Regions from separate parts of the Homo sapiens genome. Here all the other regions are linked to region 1. The links are contacts of gene promoters, found by promoter capture Hi-C in human tissues and cell types (Jung and others, 2019). All regions are on one chromosome and are shown on one strand. Each heading gives the region's core, a stretch centred on a gene start or on the middle of the fragment in contact. The rest is flanking DNA. Distances are from core to core; before and after follow the strand shown. Region 1 holds the start of NANS (N-acetylneuraminate synthase). Region 2 overlaps HEMGN (hemogen). Region 3 has its middle 34 kb from the start of FOXE1.

The links. Contacts are between HindIII fragments. The study calls those that stand out against the background at their distance.
Region 2: a contact is called between a fragment that was not itself captured here and the fragment with the promoter of NANS in region 1, in 7 of the 25 tissues and cell types used here (adrenal gland, bladder, dorsolateral prefrontal cortex and 4 more).
Region 3: a contact is called between a fragment that was not itself captured here and the fragment with the promoter of NANS in region 1, in 1 of the 25 tissues and cell types used here (hippocampus).

Annotation. Positions count from the first base shown.
Region 1 is chr9:98,054,289-98,058,445 of GRCh38, forward strand. NANS (N-acetylneuraminate synthase) reads left to right here and starts at 2,444. Exons shown (of 6, transcript NM_018946.4): 1 at 2,444-2,652. The coding sequence starts at 2,521. It also overlaps a transcript of TRIM14 not described here. RefSeq lists enhancers at 1,953-2,002, 3,043-3,162 and silencers at 2,193-2,542, 2,623-2,792. The HindIII fragment of the contact is 24,529 bases long and covers 1-4,157 here.
Region 2 is chr9:97,924,105-97,928,024 of GRCh38, forward strand. It overlaps HEMGN (hemogen), which reads right to left. Exons shown (of 4, transcript NM_197978.3): 4 at 2,687-3,374. The coding sequence ends at 3,280. Among named protein-coding and RNA genes, the nearest start is that of TRMO, 3.6 kb to the left of the region's middle. The HindIII fragment of the contact is 4,400 bases long and covers 1-3,798 here.
Region 3 is chr9:97,885,356-97,889,661 of GRCh38, forward strand. No RefSeq gene overlaps it. Among named protein-coding and RNA genes, the nearest start is that of FOXE1, 34 kb to the left of the region's middle. The HindIII fragment of the contact is 3,353 bases long and covers 1-3,082 here.

The sequences.
Region 1 (4,157 bases), core at 1,194-3,693:
CAAGATCCCTAACCAAGAATTCCAAGAGTATTCCTTCCAAACTATCCTATTCTCCATCTGAGAAGTCTCCCCGAAATCTTACTGATTGAGGAGAAGTCTCCAGAACCAAGACTCTTCCTACTAATTAGGGAGAGTAAACCGAGACCCCTGAAGAAGCTGAACCAATTGGGAGAAGGAAAGGGGTGTTGGCAGCACCTAGACTACTCACCAAATCAGACACCCCATAATGGGGCTGCAGCTGCAGACAATCCATGATGGGGCTACAAACAGACACTGTGATAAGGTTACAGTTACAGGCACCCCATGGTGGAGCTACAGAGGGACACCTTGCCATGGAGCTCTAGTTATGAGATATCTCCCCAGGACAATTTCTCTATTGCAAAGTGTACTCCATACATATTGGGCTAGTAGTGCCCTGCCGATAGAGATGACGCCAGAGTCAGCCCCCAGTCCAAAACTAGGTGGCCGCTTGGGCTGGCCTCTGGATCCATCGCCAGAGGGGGTCTACAGAACCGGGGCAGGTAGCACAAGAGCAATCCCGAATGAGCCCCCAAATTTTTAACTGCTCAACTGGTTCACCATGCCCACTACCTACACAGCTGATTTATCAAAATAGGGGAATTGCAATAGAGAGAGTAATTCATGCAGAGCCAGCTGTGCAGTCTGGCTGAGTTTTATTATTACTCACATCAATTTCCCCTAGCATTCAGGGATCAGAGGTTTTTGGGGTTTTTGTTTGTTTGTTTTTGAAATGGAGTTTCGCTCTTGTTGCCCAGGCTGGAGTGCAATGGCACAATCTCAGCTCACTGCAACCTCCGCCTCCCAGGTTTAAGCGATTCTCCTACCTCAGCCTCCCAAGTAGTTGGGATTACAGGCATGCACCACCATACCTGGCTCATTTTGTATTTTTAGTAGAGACAGGGTTTCACCATGTTGGCAAGGCTGGTCTCGAACTCCTGACCTCAGGTGATCCACCCGCCTCAGCCTCCCAAAGTGCTAGGATTACAGGTGTGAGCCACTATGCCCCACCTTGGAGATCAGAGTTTTTAAGGATAATGTGGTGGGTTAAGAGAGGCCAGTATGCCAGGAGTGCTGATTGGTTGTGTTGGAGATAAAATCATAGAAAGTCAAGGCTGTCTTCTTGTGCCAAGTCAGTTCCTGGTTGGGGGACACAAGATCAGATGAACCAGTTTATCAATCTGGTGGTGCCAGCTGATCCATCAAGTGCAGGGTCTGCAAAATATCTCAAGCACTGGTCTTAGGTTTTACAATAGTGATGTTATCCCCAGGAGCAATTTGGGGAGGGTCAGAATCTTGTAGCCTCCAGGTGCATGACTCCTACGTGTCTAATCTTGTGGCTAATTTGTTAGTCCTACAAAGGCAGTCTAGTTCCCAGGAAAGAAGGAGGTTTATTTTGGGAAATAACTTATCTTATTTTTTAAATTAATTAATTAATTTATTTATTTTTGAGACAGAGTCTTGCAGTGTCACCAGGCTGGAGTGCAGTGGTGTGATCTGGGCTCACTGCAACCTCCACCTCCCGGGTTCAAGCGATTCTCCTGCCTCAGCCTCTCGAGTAGCTGGGATTACAGGCACGCACCACCACGCCCGGCTAATTTTTTTGTATTTTTAGTAGAGACGGGGTTTCTCCATATTGGTCAGGCTGGTCTCGAACTCCTGACCTCAGGTGATCTGCCTGCCTTGGCCTCCCAAAGTGCTGGGATTACAGGTGTGAGCCACCGCGCCCGCCCAGGTGATTGTATTTTAAGAGCCTGGGGCTGGGAGGTCCGGGTACTAGTCCCATCTCTGCTTTGGCTTTCTGGATGGCTTTGGACAAGCCAGTGCAACTTCTCGAACCTGTTGCCTCTCATATAATAGGAACCTCCGCCACTTCTTGAAAACTTACTACAAGCCAAGTATTGTGATCAGGGGTTTCTATACGTCATCTCACAGTTCTATTTTATTTTTTTGCTTCAGAGAGAAACAAAAATAACGCTCCGGAAGACTGAGTAACGTATATATGAGCAGGAGCTGGTGACTGGCATAGGCTGGACTCGATCCAGCTCTGTGATTCTAACTCTAGCAACCCTGTTTTTTCCATTACACCATAGGGCGCGCTCTCCCCATGCTCCTGAGAGCAGGACATAGACTATGCCCTGCGCAGGCAGCCGTCCGCCTCCTGCAGGGAATGCTTGCTCCTGGGTGCACGCACGGATACCGCGATGGTCCGAGACCACGCTCTGGGACAGCAAGCCTCAAGCCTCGCACAGGAGAGGGCCGCGGAGCTTCCTCGACCCGCCCCGCCGCCCTTCCCGCGGGAGGCCCCGCCCCCGCCCCCCGCCCCGATTGGCTGTCGGGAGAGAGGCGGGGCCTAGGGGATTGGCTGCCCGGCGACCGCGGGCTGACGTGGCGGGGCTGGCGTGTGGGTCTCGCAGCGTTGCTCACAGAACAGAGTAGAGGCGGCGGCGGCGGCGGCCGGACCCAGACTGGTAGTGAGGCTTTGGACCCCGAGCCGCTGCAATGCCGCTGGAGCTGGAGCTGTGTCCCGGGCGCTGGGTGGGCGGGCAACACCCGTGCTTCATCATTGCCGAGATCGGCCAGAACCACCAGGGCGACCTGGACGTAGCCAAGCGCATGATCCGCATGGCCAAGGTGAGGCGGCAGCTCCCGGGACCCGGGATTCGGGCGCCGGGAGGGGCGGGGCGGGGCCGCGGGGAGCCAGGGCCACACGGCCTCCGCGGCTGGGTACCCTGGTCCGGCCTCTTCCCGCCCGCCAGTTCCGTTTTCGGAATCCTTCGGATCCCTCTTCCTCACCGTGTCCGCCACCCTCGTGACCTTTCTGCATTACAGCAGCTGCCTCCTAACCCGACCTGTTTCCTCCCCGTTCTGGTGCCAGAATAATCTTTCTAAAAGTCAGACTTGATCAGACCATCCCCCCTGCCTGGCACCTTCTGTGGCTCCCTCCTGCCCGCGGGTAGAGTCGAAACCCTTTAACATAGCCTTCAAGATTTTAATGACTGGGCCCCTTCCAGCCCGTCATAATTCTTCTCTGACATTCTTCAGCGACACAGAGTTACTTTCAGGAATGACAGTTCCTGGAAGTTGCTGTGGTCTCTCTCACCCGCCATTCCCTGTATATGAAATATGAAGTGGTTAAAAGCCGGGCCTTTGAGTTCAAATCTCAGTTCCACCACTACTAGCTGTGTGAACATGGGCTGCTTACTTAGCCTCCGTGAACCCTTTTCCCCATTTGAAAACGGGGCTTGAAAACAACAGTTCTTTCCACATGGAGTTGTTATGGGGATCAAATGAGATTCTCAGATAGAGCTCTGAGCCCAGCACTTGGCACACATGAGTCGGTAAATGCGTGCTCCCTCTTCTGTTGGGACTGCCATATTCTTCATTACGACCCCAGCCCCCAGCATAAGGCCTGGCCTGCACTATGATTCTTTGGTTTAGAGATAGCTCACCCCATCTTTCCTTTCCCTTCATCAATGCTACTCAACTGATTTTGTATCATTTGTGATAGGTTTTTTAAATGTTTATTTATTTATTTATCTATGTTAGAGACAGGGTCTTGCTCTGTCACCCAGGCTGGAGGTTTTCTCTTACTGTTTTTTTTTTTTTTTCCTGGTTTTTTTTTTTTTTTTTTTTGAGACAGGGTCTCTGTATCACCCAGGCTGGAGTGCAGTGGCATGATCCCGGCTCACTGCAACCTCTGCCTCCCAGGCTTAAGTGATTCTCCCACCTCAGCCTCCCGAGTAGCTGGGACCCACAGGCGTGAACCACCATGCTGGGCTAATTTTTTTGTAGAGATGGGGTTTGGCCATGTTACCCAGGCTGGTCTCGAACTCCTGAGCTCAAGCAATCTGCCCACCTTGGCCTCCGAAAGTGCTGGGATTACAGGTGTGAGCCACCACCCTCGGCCCTTGCTGTTCCTTCGGGACTGGTTTTATGGAAACCTAATCACTGAATCATAAAAATACTTTACAAAAATAACATTGCTAACATTTTTTGAGTGCTTACTCTACCAGGTACTAAGCTAAATGCTGTACATGCACCATCTCATTTAATTTTTACAACAACCCAATGCCATGATGCTGCCGATTTCATTTTAAAGGCTAAGAGAAAATAAGTGACTTAGGCAAGGTCACATA
Region 2 (3,920 bases), core at 349-2,848, 130 kb before region 1:
GACTGAAAACGGGAACTTAAATATGCAGCACATTTTTTAGTCTATGATTTGAAGTTCTTATTATCTTGTCTGGAATTATATGTGATTATTTGCAGTTTATAAGACTTAACCTCTCCTCCAGATGTAAGACCTAGAAATCTGCCTTAAAGAAATGACCTAAATAATTATGTAGTCTTCAGCTTGTACTACTTTGAGAAACACTTCTCAGTAGAGTGATTCTTAACCTCTCATTTGGGTGAAGGACCCCTTTGAGAATCAACTAAAGCTTTGAACCGTCCCACACATCATTTTGGCTATAATATCATATGGTTCATGGGTTTCTAACCTAACATGAGAGGAGGGCAGCACAAAGTCAAGCTAGAAGGATTCTTGCAAAACTTTAATTCTGTCACCTAAAGGTTCTAAGCCAAGAAGAACGCCAGAAGAATTTTAGATGCACAGTGATGTTTAAACAAGAATGGTGAGAAAGCAGAAGTGGTGTGTGAATGCAGGGAGTGATGTAAGAGGGCAAGCAGAAAGGGTCCCGAGAGGTGGAGAGAGAAATTCTGCTTCCTCTAATGTACTGCATTCCTCTTTCCCTCTCCTTCCCCATCTCATCTTTGTGCTCCTGTGCACTGTACGTATGCAAATCTCTTAAGGTCCATCTTAATGCAACGCTGTTAGAACTTGAGACTTCAGTTTACTCTTTTTTTTCCTCTAATTTTGGCCCACTCTGGCAGGTGAAATTGAGACAGAAGCACATTCCAAAGAAGAAAAAAAAGCACTGAGGAAGTCAGATGTGACTTTGGGTGAGTACCTTCCCTCTATGTTATTCCCTCATCTTTAAGTGAGAGTGATAATCACCGCCTGGCCTATTTCACATACTTTTGTACAGATCAAATAAAATAGTTTATGTGAAAGTATAAATGTTGAAGTGTCATTGAGAGGTAAGAAACTATTATATGGTTGTGGCCGGGCGCGGTGGCTCACTCCTGTAATCCCAGCACTTTGGGAGGCCGAGGAGGATCACGAGGTCAGGAGATTGAGACCATCCTGGCTAACATGGTGAAACCCCGTCTACTAAAAATACAAAAAAAAAAAAAAAATAGCCAAGCGTGGTGGCGGGCGCCTGTAGTCCCAGCTAGTCGGGAGGCTGAGGCAGGAGAATGTCGTGAACCCAGGAGGCGGAGCTTGCAGTGAGCCGAGATGGTGCCACTGCACTCCAGCCTGGGCGACAGAGTGAGACTCCGTCTCAAAAAAAAAAAAAAAAAAAAGAGACGAAACTATTATGTGGTTGTGCTGCCCTGCCCTCAGTATGTTGTGTAATAAATATAATAGGGGTATGAATAATTGTGCAATGAATACATCCTGATGGTAAAAAATTTAATGTACACACAAAAGGGGGTAGGCAGATAGGAGGGAAACAATATTGTAACATCCCACTGTACTATTGGTTCTCAACCCTACCTCCACTTTAGGATTGTCAGGAGAGCTTTTAAAATAAAAACATCCTAAATGCAATTCTATATCCTGGATTGGACCCTGAAGCAGACAAAGCACATTAGTGGAAAAATTCATGAAAACGGAATAATGTCTGTAGTTAATGGTAGTGTAACTATCCTGATTTCTTAGTTTTGACAAATGGCCCATGGTTATGTAAGACGTTAACATTGGTGTAAACTGGGCGAAAGGTATATAGTAACTTTTGTACTATCATGACAACTTTTCTGTAATTCTAAAATTATTCCTCCAAAAACTATTATTTGAAGCATAAAACAATTAAAAAATAAATATACCTATGCCTGTACATCAGCTAGATGGGGGAATCTGAATCCCTGGGGGAGAAGTCTGGACATATATGTATTTTTGAAACCTTCCCAGGTGAGTCTAATGTACCAGAAGGGTTGAAAGAACCACTGCTCTCTCATGTTCATTATACCATGAATGCCTGAGGGACTGTGACCCTGTCTTGTTCTTTGATATAGCTAGTACCTAGCACAGTGTCTATATGGAAAGCTTGTGCAAGTGTGTTCTTGCTGAATGAAACTTTATTTGCAAAAATATCCTTAGTCCTCTGTAATAACAGAAGGAAAAGTGAAAACAAAAAATACCAGGGTAGATTTTCAGACATCTTCCCATCCAGAACAGCTTCTATTCCTGCCCCGGTCTCTTGTCGTTTTCAGTTAATCTTTACCATTATCACCATATTTACCATATTCCTAAAATAGTGAAATTGCCATTCCATTGTTCAAAAATCTGACTTCATTCCCCATTTTTAACAAGTGATATATTTCTTGGTTAGGTAAGCAAAATATTCTATGCTCTAGTAATATGAGCTTTTCAGCATGCAAGCCTACTACTATTTCATATGGACTCTACATTAACCATAGTTTGCCTGCAGTTCTCTTGAACATGTTTTGAACTCACCCTTCTCTTTGTCACATACAGTAATGCTGCTATCCTCATCTATGCAAATACTTTCCGTCTTTCAAGGCTTCATGCCTGTGTAATTTTTTCAGGTCACTCCAGCAAAAAGTGAGCATTCTCTGTTTGTATCTACCATTCAAATGGCACCAGCCCTTACTATTTTCTTTTGTGATTATTTGTTTTCTGTTTTATTTCCCCATGAAACCAAATTAACCCCACCGTGGGGTGTTAGATAGGTCTTCTAACCTCCGCAATTCTTAACATGATGGTATCCACACAGTTAAGCATGTAATAATGATTTAATGTACATTGTGCACAAATACAATATTTAAAAAATAAAAATAGAAAATCAAAATTCAAATACAAAAGTAAACTACATTCATCACTCCAAAATATCTTTTAAGGAGAATTGTTAAAACTGACCAAAAGAGTCAACTAAAGCCTGAATAAAATTTTGATGCTACTGTTACATTAATAATTGAACAGCATTTACAAGAAAACTATATACTCCACAAAATGTATGTGTTCAGTCTTAGTCACTTATCTGCTCTTAAGACGTAAATAAATGTTCTTAGGGGGGAAAACCAATTATCCAGTCCTCCCCGCTTCCTTATTTGTCTGTTCCCACCACTATCCTCTCCCCGACCTATACATACATACACACACACACACACACACACACACACACATTCTAGCATGATATTGTCTATGTGGTAGAGCCTTAAAAAATGTTATTTCTTTCAGATATGGTCTACAAATAGAAAAAATAATATTAATGAGCATTGTCAAAAGTTTTACAATATTTTGAGAAAATCACGCATAAACTATTAAGCTGTATGTTCCATTGGACCACAACTTTATGGTTGAGCATTGTTAAAACAAAACATAACTATAGACATCATTTTCTGGATGACTCTCATTCAGAATTGCTGGTATTCCTGGCTCTTCTTTGGGTTTTTCTTTCATTTCTGTAAAATCAAATAAAATAAAAAATAGATTCAATAAATTGTATTGGGACAATTGACTCTCCATTTGGAGGAAGAAAAACTGCTTTACAACATACACAACAACAAACCGTAGATGGGGTAAATTTTTAAATACCATAAAGTTATAGAAATAATAGTGTTTTTAGTAATCTTAGGATGCTAAGCAGAACACAGAGACCAGAAACCATAAAGGAAAAGACTAGCAAGTTCGAATACCTAAAAAGTAAAATTATATATGGTGAAAACCACTATAAACAAAGTTAAACCAAATCAAAGACAACTGGAAAAATATTTGCAACATATACATAGTAAAAACTATTATTTAAAGAGGTTTTTTAATCGGAAAAAAGAAATAAAAAATGTTGAATGGGATAAGGATTCAAACAGGCAATTCTTAAAAAATTATATTTATAATAATCCTGAAAAGATGTCTAGTAACATTAATTATAAAAGGGGGTGATTAAGACCATTAGGTGTGTTTTATTTTTTAACCTATCACTTCTCAGCCTTTTGGCTAAGATCAAGTGT
Region 3 (4,306 bases), core at 156-2,655, 170 kb before region 1:
GTATATGCTATACTTTTATAAGACTGGCAGTGCATTAGGTTTGTTTATACCAGCATCACCCCAAACACATGAGTAGTGCATTGTGCTATGATGATACGACGGCTGGATCTTGCTAGGCGATAGGAATTTTTCAGCTCCATTATAATCTCATGGGACCACCACCATATATTGCAGCCCATTACTGACATAAACATACTTAGGTTATGACTGTACTTGGGTTAAAGATGATAATTACTGTAATTGGTTGACTATTCTAAGAATAATAATTATAGATAAATACAAACATGTATGCAATATAATGGATATGATTAATGTTTATTTTTAAAAGTTGTTTCAGTTTATTCAGCTAGTAAATATACACATATCTTGTTTTATTTAATATACTGATACTTTGTGTTTCAAAGCGATAGACATAAGCTTTAGATTTAGTAGTCATTTGTATTTTTATATAACAGCATATATCTAGGTATAAAAGGATATCAGTAAATCCTTTATTATACATCATTATGTAATGCTTATGTAAAATTACTCGAATATTTTATGCCCACATTAGTAAAGTTTCTTTTGTGTCACCAAAATATTTTTTTAACTCTTGGTGCTTTCTACCATACTTAGTTAAGTTCCTAATAATCATTGCTCCTAGGCTGGGCACAGTGGCTCAGCACGTGGGTGGGGAGGATTGCTTGAGCCCAGAAGTTCAAGACCAGCTGGGCAATATAAGGAGCCCTTGTCTCTACCAAAAAAAAAAAAAAATACAAAAATTAGCCAGGCATGGTGGTGCATGCCTGCAGTCCCAGCTACTCAGGAGGCTAAGGTGGGAGAATCACTTGAGCCCAGGAAGCGAAAGTTGCAGTGAGCTGAGATTGTGTCGCTACACTCCAGCCTGGGTGACAGGGCTAGACCCTGCCTCAAAAAAAAAAAAAAATTTGTTCCTTATTGCCATGTGTTACAATGTCACCTGCCTTGTCTTTAAATACTTATGGTTTACACAGGTAAACCTTGCTTTATTGAACTTCACTCTATTGTGCTTTGCAGGTATTTCATTTTTTTTTTTTTTTTTTGAGACGGAGTCTCACTCTGTCGCCCAGGCCGGACTGCGGACTGCAGTGGCGCAATCTCGGCTCACTGCAAGCTCCGCTTCCTGGGTTCACGCCATTCTCCTGCCTCAGCCTCCTGAGTAGCTGGGACTACAGGCGCCCGCCACCGCGCCCGGCTAATTTTTTGTATTTTTAGTAGAGACGGGGTTTCACCTTGTTAGCCAGGATGGTCTCGATCTCCTGACCTCATGATCCACCCGCCTCGGCCTCCCAAAGTGCTGGGATTACAGGCGTGAGCCACCGCGCCCGGCCAGGTATTTCATTTTTTACAAATTGGAGGTTTGTGGCAACCCTGCATCAAGCAAGTCTATCAGTGCCCATTTTTCAACAGCATATGCTCACTTCATGTATCTGTGCCAGCATTTTTTAGCAATGAAGTATTTTTTACTTTTGTGGATACATAGTAGGTGTACATATTTATGGGCTACATGAGATATTTTGATACGGGCATGCAACATGAAATAAGCACATTGTGAAGAAGGGGTATCCATCCCCTCAAGCATTTACCCATTGAATTGCAAACAAACCAATTACACTCTAAGTTATTTTAAAATGTACAGCTATTATTAACTATATAGTCACCCTATTTTGCTATCAAATAGTAGGTCAGATTTATTCTTTTGAACATTTTTAATAAAGCATTTTAAATTATAGTTTTTTTTAGACATAATGCTATTGCACATCAACTTTTATGTGCACTGGGAAACCAAAAAATTTATTTGATTTGCTTTATTGAAATATTTGCTTTATTACAGTGGTTTGGAATCGAACCTATAATATTTCCAAAGTATGCTGGTATCTTGTCTCCTCTAACTACACACACACACACACACGCATATATATATACATAGAGAGAGAGAGAGGGACTTGCTCTGTTGCCCAGGCTGGAGTGCAGTGGCACGATCTCGGCTCCCCACAACCTGCACTTCCCGGGTTCAAGCAATCCTCCTGCCTCAGCCCCCCAAAATAGCTGGGATTACAGGCATGCACCACCACACCCGGCTAATTTTTAGTGTTTTTACTAGAGGTGGGGTTTCTCCACGTTGGCTAGGCTGGTCTTGAGCTCCTGACCTCAAGTGGTCTGACTGCCTCGGACTCCCAAAGTGCTGCGATTACAGGCGTGAGTCACTACGTCGGGCCATCCTCTAATCATCTTTTCTTGATTTTTGCCTTTCCCAAATCCAGGTTTCATATTCAAAACAACAAAATTGTTAAGATGTTTTCATATCTAAACAACATTTGGGTGTTCTAAAGTAACCACCAGGTAACACAATGGTTTGCTCCTATACTACCTATGAAAGGAATGACGAAAGGAATAATTAGGTTTGTATAGAATATTGTGCATTATAGTCATAACTGCTGTGAGAACTCCCAAATCAGGGTGGTGTGCAGGTTAGGGCAGAGTTTTGGGAGAGGCGAACTGTTCTGTACAAAAAGGAGAAGAATCATAATGCTGAGGGGAGGGGAGGGACCTGGGAGAGGGGAGTGAGCAGCAAGCAGGGTGGGGCACCACCTGAATGAAGGACAGAAGGTGAGAGCCCTTAGGGGCACAGCAGCACAAAAGACTTTGGGAGAAAAGGAATTAATAAGAGGGAATTTTTAAGTTGTTTGTCATGGTGTGTGCTATGGGCCTCCTTCCCTCTTGTCACTCTTACACTGTCTTTAGAAAAGTCATTCTTTTTTTGTGAAAGGGGATTCTCCAGGGAGTATTGAAGGATGCAGGGATGAATTGTTTGTTTCTGAAATGGAGTCTTGCTCTGTCACTCAGGCTGGAGTGCAGTGGTGTGATCTCAGCTCACTGCAACCTTCACCTCTTGGGTTCAAGTGATTCTCATGCCCCAGCCTCCTGAGTAGCTGGGGTTACAGGCATATGCCACCAGGCCTGGCTAATTTTTGTATTTTTAGTAGAGACAGGGTTTCACCATGTTGGCCAGGCTAGTCTCTAACTCCTGACCTCAAGTGATCTGCTCACCTCGGCCTCCCAAACTGCTGGGATTACAGGGGTGAGCCACTGCACCTGGCCTGCATGCAAGGCAAAAACACATCATGAAGGGAAGCTGGAATGGAAGTCTCCAGGGTAAATTCCTGGAAATGAGCAAGACTTTCAAAAGCTGTGGAATTGAGGGGGTGTCAAGCTGAGATCTCAAGGGGTAATGGACCCAATTAATGTCTAGGTTCTAGGTGGGAGAAATAGGAAGTAGCACAAGGGATATATCTGACATGATGATAAGATGGAGTTGGAGAACAGGAAGGCCCAGAGAAGGGTGGGGAGATTTAGAAGGAGCTGGAGGGTTAAGGGTCTTCTGGACTAAATAGTCGGGGTGGGGGAAACTATGAGTTAAGCTGGCAGTCTGTCCTTCCCGTCCCACCCTACAGAAACCGAAGGCCAGACTCCAGCAGAGATTGAATCTTTTTTTTTTTGTCTCTCTTCCCACTTGTCTAAATGAATTATTATGTTAGCCCAGAGAGACAACTGAGATGGGAACTCTCAGGAAAAAAGAGGGCATCATCTTTATGGACATGGAGGGGTTACGGTTGAGACTAGGGCTTCTATCCAATACTCACAGACCATCTACCTGGATGTGGTAGAGGGGTTCAGGAAAAATTCCCAGCCAGGGACTGGATTATTAAGAGTTCAGAATAACCGAAGGGGAGCAGAGTCTTCGCCCTGTTTGTCAGTCCCCTCCATTTAGGTGTGCTGGCCAAGCCTTTCCTCCATTTTAGGGCTGATCTGGATAGTAATGCTGAGCCTCTGAAAGGTTCCAGTCGGAGGCTGGAGCCCTAGTGCTGTCCTTGTGGAGCTGAATCCCATCTCATGGAGCAAACCCTATTAGAGATTTTGTCCCCTTCCTCGAGAGGAATACACAGATAACCCTTTTCTAAGGTTTTCAAAAGAAGAAAATAGAAAAACACTTTTACCCACATTACAAATGAATAAAAAGGAAGTAACATAGAGCTCCACTCCTGCAGCGGAGAAAGACTATCCATGAGTATAGTCTGCCTAGAGAGGAGAGACAGCATTGGACCTCAGCCCTCCTTCCTTTCTTGTCTTTCAGCATCAATGCAGAGAAAAGAGGAGCAGCAAAGAGGGTGCATTTCCAGGTTAGTGTCTTAGTCCGTTTGGGCTGCAATAACAGAATACCATAGGCCCATAGACTAGGTGGCTTAAATTGATCTCTCACACTGCTGAAGGGTGCAAATGCCAAAAT